Linked DNA regions of Homo sapiens: region 2 is linked to region 1. Evidence: promoter capture Hi-C in 16 types of primary human blood cells and fetal thymus (Javierre and others, 2016). All regions are on one chromosome and are shown on one strand. The core of a region is centred on a gene start or on the middle of the fragment in contact, and the rest is flanking DNA. Distances in the headings are between cores, read along the strand shown.

Evidence for each region. The method cuts DNA at HindIII sites, captures the fragments that hold promoters and counts their contacts. A CHiCAGO score of 5 or more calls a contact.
Region 2: a fragment that was not itself captured here is called in contact with the fragment with the promoter of GRM6 in region 1 in 3 of 17 cell types (megakaryocytes, total CD8 T cells and neutrophils); the score reaches 5.8 in megakaryocytes.

Annotation. Positions count from the first base shown.
Region 1 is chr5:178,993,575-178,997,351 of GRCh38, reverse strand. GRM6 (glutamate metabotropic receptor 6) reads left to right here and starts at 2,032. Exons shown (of 11, transcript NM_000843.4): 1 at 2,032-2,076; 2 at 2,392-2,911. The coding sequence starts at 2,408. The HindIII fragment of the contact is 9,329 bases long and covers 1-3,777 here.
Region 2 is chr5:179,094,068-179,097,844 of GRCh38, reverse strand. No RefSeq gene overlaps it. Among named protein-coding and RNA genes, the nearest start is that of ZNF354C, 36 kb to the right of the region's middle. The HindIII fragment of the contact is 2,410 bases long and covers 369-2,778 here.

The sequences.
Region 1 (3,777 bases), core at 783-3,282:
GGCCTTCTGCCCCTGCACGGGGCTGAATAAATTATGCTGAATGTTCCCTCCTTCCTCAATCCTTGTTTCTGGGCCCCTCTGGTGCCTACGCTCCTGCTTCTCCTCTAACTCCTCGGCCACCCCCTCCCAGTCTCCTTACTTCTGCTCAGACCTGCATGTTGGGGTTCCTGGGGCTCCAGCCTCACTGTCTGTCCACACTCTCAGCCCCAGGGAACTCCTGCGTCCCACGGCTTTAAACGCCTCCGTGGCGATCCCACCTCAGCTTTCTCTCCCGCCCTGGCCTCTTCCCTCAGTTCCAGGCTCATGAACCACGAAGCCTCCACTTTCCTGCCCAAACCCGAACTCTTGGCTTCTGCCCTCCTTGACCTGCTCAGCTGTGTCTCTGGTCCTCATATTCTCAGGGAATGCCCCAGCAGCTATGCCATCCTCCACCCCTCCAAGAGCCAAATCTCCATCAGGTCTAAAATCCTGCCACCCCCCTCCCCTTCTCCTCCAGCCCCCTGCTCACAGGTGTGCATGCCTCCCTCCTACACGGCGAGGACCCCCTGCCAGTCCCCCAGCTGCTGCCCCCGCTTCCTGATGGTCTGTCCTCCAGACAGGGGCAGTGGCTGCCTTGGTCATGCCAAGCAGGAGGCTGCTGTGTGCTGGGAGCTGTCAGGCTCGTCCTGAACAGGGAAGGGCCCATCCACCTCCCAAACCCAGTTTATGCAGTCCTTCGCAATGTCAGGCTCAGGGCCTGGCACCAGCCAAGCTCCCCACCCTTCCCACTGTTAAAATGGATAGGAGCAGGGCTAGGCCCAGCCTGTTGACTCTGGGCTTCCACCAGGAGAAGTGGTTCTGGCAGTAGAAACTATCGGGGCCTGGGAGAGGCGGGGGAAGAGAGAAAGGTGGCATGTTTCTTGCTTGCTCCCTCTACCAGCCTTGTCCAAATCCCCGCAGCCACCCTAATCCAGCCTGTCTAATGGAGCCCAAGCCGGCTCAGGCCCTCGGACGAGGAGCCTGCTAATCCCTGTGGCTAGGAGCTCACCACCTGTCTCCAGGACGCCCTTTGCTCTCTTGGCATCAGAGAGCCAAATCCTGGGCCTCGGATGGGGGGATGATAAAAGCATCTTTTGGCCAAGCCCCCTCACCTTGGCCTCCACGATGAGATGGGGAGTTAGGTGCAGAGAGCGTTGGCACAGTGAGCACCGCAGCTCGAGTGGCTGCCTCAGACCCAGAGCCCGAGGAGACTTTATACGGAGCCAGAACGACCCCGCGGGGTTCCATCCTCCCAAGCAATAGGCGGGAGTGGGAGCTGCGAGGAAAGCCGGCCCCTCCCCTCCCTCCATCCAAGGCAGTGTGGGCTGTTTGTTTCATGCCATTCTGGGTGTGAATCCTGATGCCCACACATGCCAGCTGCATGCACTTGGGCAACTCAACTCACTCCTCGAGGGCTGTTTCTCGACTGCAGGGTGTTGTAAGTTCGCTAATACTAAAGGCTTCTCCCTCCTGGCCCCTTCCTGCCCCTCGCTCTTCCTCCTCTTCCTTAGGCCCTCCCAGCTCAGGCAGCCCCTGCCCCCTGCAGGGTTCTGCAAGGAGAAAGCTGGGGAATACCTTAGGCAACTGCAGTCAGGAGCACTGGTGGCCAGGACAGAGACAGAGAGACAGAAAAGGGGTCAGGGACAGAGAGAGATAACCGCAGGGAGAGACAGGAAGGGACAGAGACAGAAAAGATTTCCAAGAAGAGGACAGAGGCAGAAAGCCAGGGACAGAGACTGAGAAACAGAGACCTAGAGGCAGAAGAAGACTGAGATAGAGATGGACAGAGATTGTGTCAGACACAGCCCCAGAGACAGCCAGACAGTCTGAGTCAGACGCAAACCAAAGACAAGAAAACAGGAAAACAGACCCAGAGATTGGGAGAGGGAGGGGAAGGAGATGCGGGGAGAGCCAGCACCGCCACCCCCCACACTCAGGAGGGGTCTCCACCCTCGGAGCGGTCTCTCATCCCTCCCTAGAATCCTTAAATCCTCTCTCGCTCAGGGCCTCGGCCGCATCTGTCACAGACTTGTCCTGAACCGACAGCGGCTGGCGCAGGTGACTGGCTTGGGGCGGGAGCCTGGGTGTGCGCTGGGGATGGACCCCGAGGAAGAGGGGCCAAGCTGTCGGGAAGCGGCAGGGCTGGAGGGGTGGAGGCAGTGGTCGGGCGGGACCCCGGGCGACAGGGTTCGGCGCTTGTAAGAGCGAGACGGAGGCCCGGGCAGGCCGGCTGAGCTAACTCCCCAGAGCCGAAGTGGAAGGCGCGCCCCGAGCGCCTTCTCCCCAGGACCCCGGTGTCCCTCCCCGCGCCCCGAGCCCGCGCTCTCCTTCCCCCGCCCTCAGAGCGCTCCCCGCCCCTCTGTCTCCCCGCAGCCCGCTAGACGAGCCGATGGCGCGGCCCCGGAGAGCCCGGGAGCCGCTGCTCGTGGCGCTGCTGCCGCTGGCGTGGCTGGCGCAGGCGGGCCTGGCGCGCGCGGCGGGCTCTGTGCGCCTGGCGGGCGGCCTGACGCTGGGCGGCCTGTTCCCGGTGCACGCGCGGGGCGCGGCGGGCCGGGCGTGCGGGCAGCTGAAGAAGGAGCAGGGCGTGCACCGGCTGGAGGCCATGCTGTACGCGCTGGACCGCGTCAACGCCGACCCCGAGCTGCTGCCCGGCGTGCGCCTGGGCGCGCGGCTGCTGGACACCTGCTCGCGGGACACCTACGCGCTGGAGCAGGCGCTGAGCTTCGTGCAGGCGCTGATCCGCGGCCGCGGCGACGGCGACGAGGTGGGCGTGCGCTGCCCGGGAGGCGTCCCTCCGCTGCGCCCCGCGCCCCCCGAGCGCGTCGTGGCCGTCGTGGGCGCCTCGGCCAGCTCCGTCTCCATCATGGTCGCCAACGTGCTGCGCCTGTTTGCGGTGAGGGCCGCGGGGCCGGGCTCGGTGTCCAGCGTCCCTCTCCCGTCCTCGCCCTGGGGTGGCCCAAGTCTCCTTCCTTTACTTCTTCTGAAAGAGTCTCCGTTTTAATCACTCGAATTCACACAGCGTCAAAGAAGCCCTGTCAGTTGAGCCCGACGCAGGCCTGAATCGGCTCCACCCAAACACTCCAGCCGCCCATGTCTACCCCGCCCCGCGAGGGCGCCCCTTCCCGGGCGGGTGCCACCTACGCCTCTGGCCGGTTGGCTGGGGAGGGCGGCCTGACTTCAGCCCCCATTTGCCAGCCTGCTCGGGTGCCCTTGTTCTGGGCACACCCCTGCAACCATACAAGGTGCTCCTGCCCCCTGGGCCTGCGGAGCGCTCGAGTGATATTGCAACTTTGAGTTTTGTTTGGAACCCGGGCCCTTCTTCCAGAGCAGCAACTGGGGCGTGTCCCTGGGCTGCTATGGGGGATGGATAGGCCTGAAAGGTCTGGTCTTTCTCTTTTTTGATCATTTAAATTTATTTTCAAAATGCCTTGAACTCTCCCTCAAGGGGCATCTGAGAGCAGGGCGGGGCGTTCCCTTCTGAGCTCTGGTCTCCTGCACCCTGCCCTGCGCAGGTGCCCGGGCTGGCCCTGCTCTGTCCTCAAATGTAGGGAACTGTCCCGTGAGGGGCAGCGTGTTCCTTGCAGTCCTAGGGGCCAGCAGAATCGGGATTAGGAGGGCTTTGGCATACAAGTTTGGGGGTTTTCGATTTGGTCATTCACTGGGGGTTGTGGGACAGTTTTTCTGGGGTTCTGTGGCGGGAGGGGCCTGTGTGCATCCGGCTCTCTGTGAAGGAGGAAGGCCTGGCTTCCATCTACCTAG
Region 2 (3,777 bases), core at 324-2,823, 100 kb before region 1:
AGTTTTAGTGGTGAAAGAGAATAGGCATTTAAATTCCTAGCAAAGTTCCCAAATGTGGCAGTTTCTTCCTTATTTCTAAAGCAATTTAAACTACAGTGTTTCTAATATATATCACCATAATTCTGTATATACAGGGCTTTTGATTTTCAGGCAAAAAAAAATTACTGGATAGACAAGGGTCATGAAATAAATATTATAAAGATATCAAAGTTCAATTAACCTGGTTAATATATCAAAAGTTGTCATAACCTCAAGGAGAAATTGACAAAGCCTCCATCCTAGGGAAAAAGTTTAACATGTCTCTCAGTAATTGATAGCTCAGCAGAAAAAATAATAATATATAATTTGAATAATACAACAAACAAGCTTGATCTAAGGAAAACACATATATCTCTGAGCCTCCAACAATTGAACAACTCACATTCTTTTCAAACACATACAAAATATTTATGACAACTGACAACATATTGGACAATTAAAGAATAATAATAAATTGAAATGATTTTTTACTTAATGTAACTTAACTACAAAATTAAATTAGAAATCAATATTTTAAAATTTAGCTAAAATATATTTTTGAAATTTAAAAATCATACCTCTAAATAAATCACAGGTCAAAAAAACATTGAAAATTAGAAAATTCTGGTCACCAAGATGGCAGAATAGAAGGTAACCTGCTCACATCTCCCCACAACAACAAGAATTCTGCGCCTATCCAGAATCAAAAGTCTCTCTGCCTCAGGATTCAGATAGGAGTTTGTGAAATATTGGTGGAGCCCAAGATCTTGGAGGATTATTTTGAGAGTGCAGACTAACACCAGTTGGCTGATCCACCAATCTTGTTCCTGGGTTCAAGCCCAGAAATGGCCCAGTCCCCCAAGGGGCTTTGGCTACCGTACTGTTTGACTTTGAACCTGCAACCAAAACCATCTGTTAAAGGATCCAGAAGGAATTGTGTACCCTAGTGCCTTGGTGGAAAGGCATCTGCCTCGTCACCTCCATCTTAGAAGTAAACCTCAAAGTTGCCTTGTGGCTCAGCTCCAGTCCCCATCACTCCCATGTAGGTCCTAGCTCAGAGTTGCTCACACAAGAACCCAGAGGGAGACTCACTCATACCTCAATCCCAGGAGTCTGAGCCTCCCTGACAGGCTTGCCAATCTTATCCCACAACAGATCCTGAGGGGAACCAGTCTCAGCTCCAGCCCCTCCCACTGCAATCAGAGAACTATCTCATCTGTTCCAAGATCTGCTGGGAGATGCTCACCTATCTGGGCCAACATAATGGGCTCTCCAGCCTTTGTCCCACAGCAGATTCCAAGGGGACCCAGTCTCAACTCCAGCTCCTCTTGCTGCAGTAAGGAACCCATTCCACCTATGCAAAGACCTGCTAGGAGTCACACCCATCTGAGCCTACGGTACAGTCTTCTAGACTCAGATCTGCGAGGAGGCACACCCATCTGAGCCTACAGTACAGTCTTCTAGACCCAGGTCCCTGGCTAGCATTCCCACACAGCCCCAGTATATCCATTCCTTGGGTCTTCCCCAGGTCCATCTGGGACTCAAAACCTCAAAGTCCTCATGAGACTCACAGCAAGCCTGGGCATAGAGCATCTTCCAGTGCTGAGATGGGTACAGTGGTCACAGGCTCAGGGAACTCAATAGTGGGCTTAGAATCCCTGGAAGGCCCTCTGAAGAAAGGCAGGCACAAATGAGGCCAGACTGTGAAGACTAAAATAAATCTTCAGTCCCTAAATGCACAGACATTGTTGCACATCCACAAGCTCAAAAACATTCAAGGAAATATGACCTAACCAAACAGAGAAAACAAGGTGCCAGAGGCAGACCAAAGTGACGGAGATGTTTAATGTCTCAGATGAAGAATTCCAGGCTGGGCGCAGTGGCTCACACCTGTAACCCCAGTACTTTGGGAGGCCGAGGTGGGCAGATCACGAGGTCAGGAGATCGAGACCATCCTAGCCAACATGGTGAAACCCCATCTCTACTAAAAATACAAAAATTGGCCGGGTGTGGTGGTGCACGTCTGTAGTCCCAGCTACTCGGGAGGCTGAGGCAGAAGAATCACTTGAACCCAGGAGGCGGGGGCTGCAGTGAGCCGAGATAGCCCCACTATACTCCATGCACTCCAGCCTGGGTGACAGAGGTGAGACTCTTGTCTCAAAAAAAAAAAAAAAAAAAAGAATTCCAAATAGCTGTTCTAAATAGCTCAACAAACTTTAGGAAAACACATAGGATTAATTCAGAAATGTACCAGCAAATTTAACAGAAAGATTAAAACAAAAATTTTTTTAAATGTGAAATCAGCCAGGCACAGTGGCTCATGCCTGAAATCCCAGCACTTTGGGAGGCCAAGGCTGGTGGATCACTTGCGGTCAGGAGTTCAAGACCAACGTGGATAACATGGTGAAACTCTGTCTCTACTAAATACATGAATATTAGCCAGGCATGGTGGCGCACACCTATAATCCCAGCTACTCAGGCGGCAGAGGCAGGAGAATCGCTTCAACTCAGGAGGTGCAGGTTGCAATGAACCAAGATCATGCCATTGGATTCCAGCCTGGGCAACAGAGCAAGACTCCATCTCAAAAAAGAAAAAAATAGTGAAATCCTGGAGTTGAAAAATACTATGAAAATTTCAATAGAGAACATCAACAGCAGAACTGATCAAACATAGGAAAGAATCAGTGAGCTCAAAGACAGACTATTTGAAAATACATGGAAGAGAGAAAGAAAACATAATGAAAAGGAATAAAGAAAGCTTAGGGGATCTATAAGACAACATCAAACCAGCAAATATTCAGATTATTGGACTTAAAGAGGGAACTGAGGAAGAAATATAGGTAGAAAGCTTATTTAAAGAAATAATAATAGAAAACTTTCCAAACTTGGAGAAAGATACAAATATCCAGGTACAGGAAGACCAAAGGTTAGCAATCAGATTCAACCCAAATAAGAATTCTCCAAGACATATAAACTCTCAAAGGTCCAACATAGAGAGGGGATTCTAAAAGTAGCTAGAGAAAAGAAGCAAATAACATGTAAGAGAGATCAAATATTCCTAGCAGAAGACTTCGCAGTAGAAACTTTACAGGCCAGGATGGAGTAGGAAGATATATTTCCAGTCTGAAGGGGGAAAAAAATCTGCCAAGCAAGAATTCTATACCCAGAAAAGCTATCTTTCAGAAATGAAGGAGCAATAAAGACTTTCCCAGACAAACAAAAGCTGGGGCAATTGATTGCTACTAGATTGGACCTATAAAAAAATGCTAAAGGGATTCTTCAAACCAAAAGAAAAGGACATTAACATGATTGTTATACTAATGTAATAATCATGATATGTAAACTACTTATATATTTACTAAGAAGACTAAAAGACAAAACTATTTAAAATAACTACAATTTGTTAAGAGATAGGCAATATAAAATGCAAATTGTGACATCAAAAATTCAAAATGGGGGAAGAGAGTTAATGTGTACAGGTTTTTTCTTTGTTTCTTTCCTTTTTGTATGATCAGAGATAAGTTGGTATCTATTTAAAATAACTTGTTATATCTATAAGATGTTTTCTGTAAGCCACACAGGGGAAAAACTGAAATCCTTTCCACTAAGATATGGAATAAGACAAGGATGCCCACTTTCACCATTTTTATTCAATATAGTACTGGAAATTATAGCCAGAGGAATTAGGCAAGAGAAAGAAATACAGGGCATCCAAATTAGAAAGGAAGGAGTCAAATTACCCTTGTTTGCAGATGACGT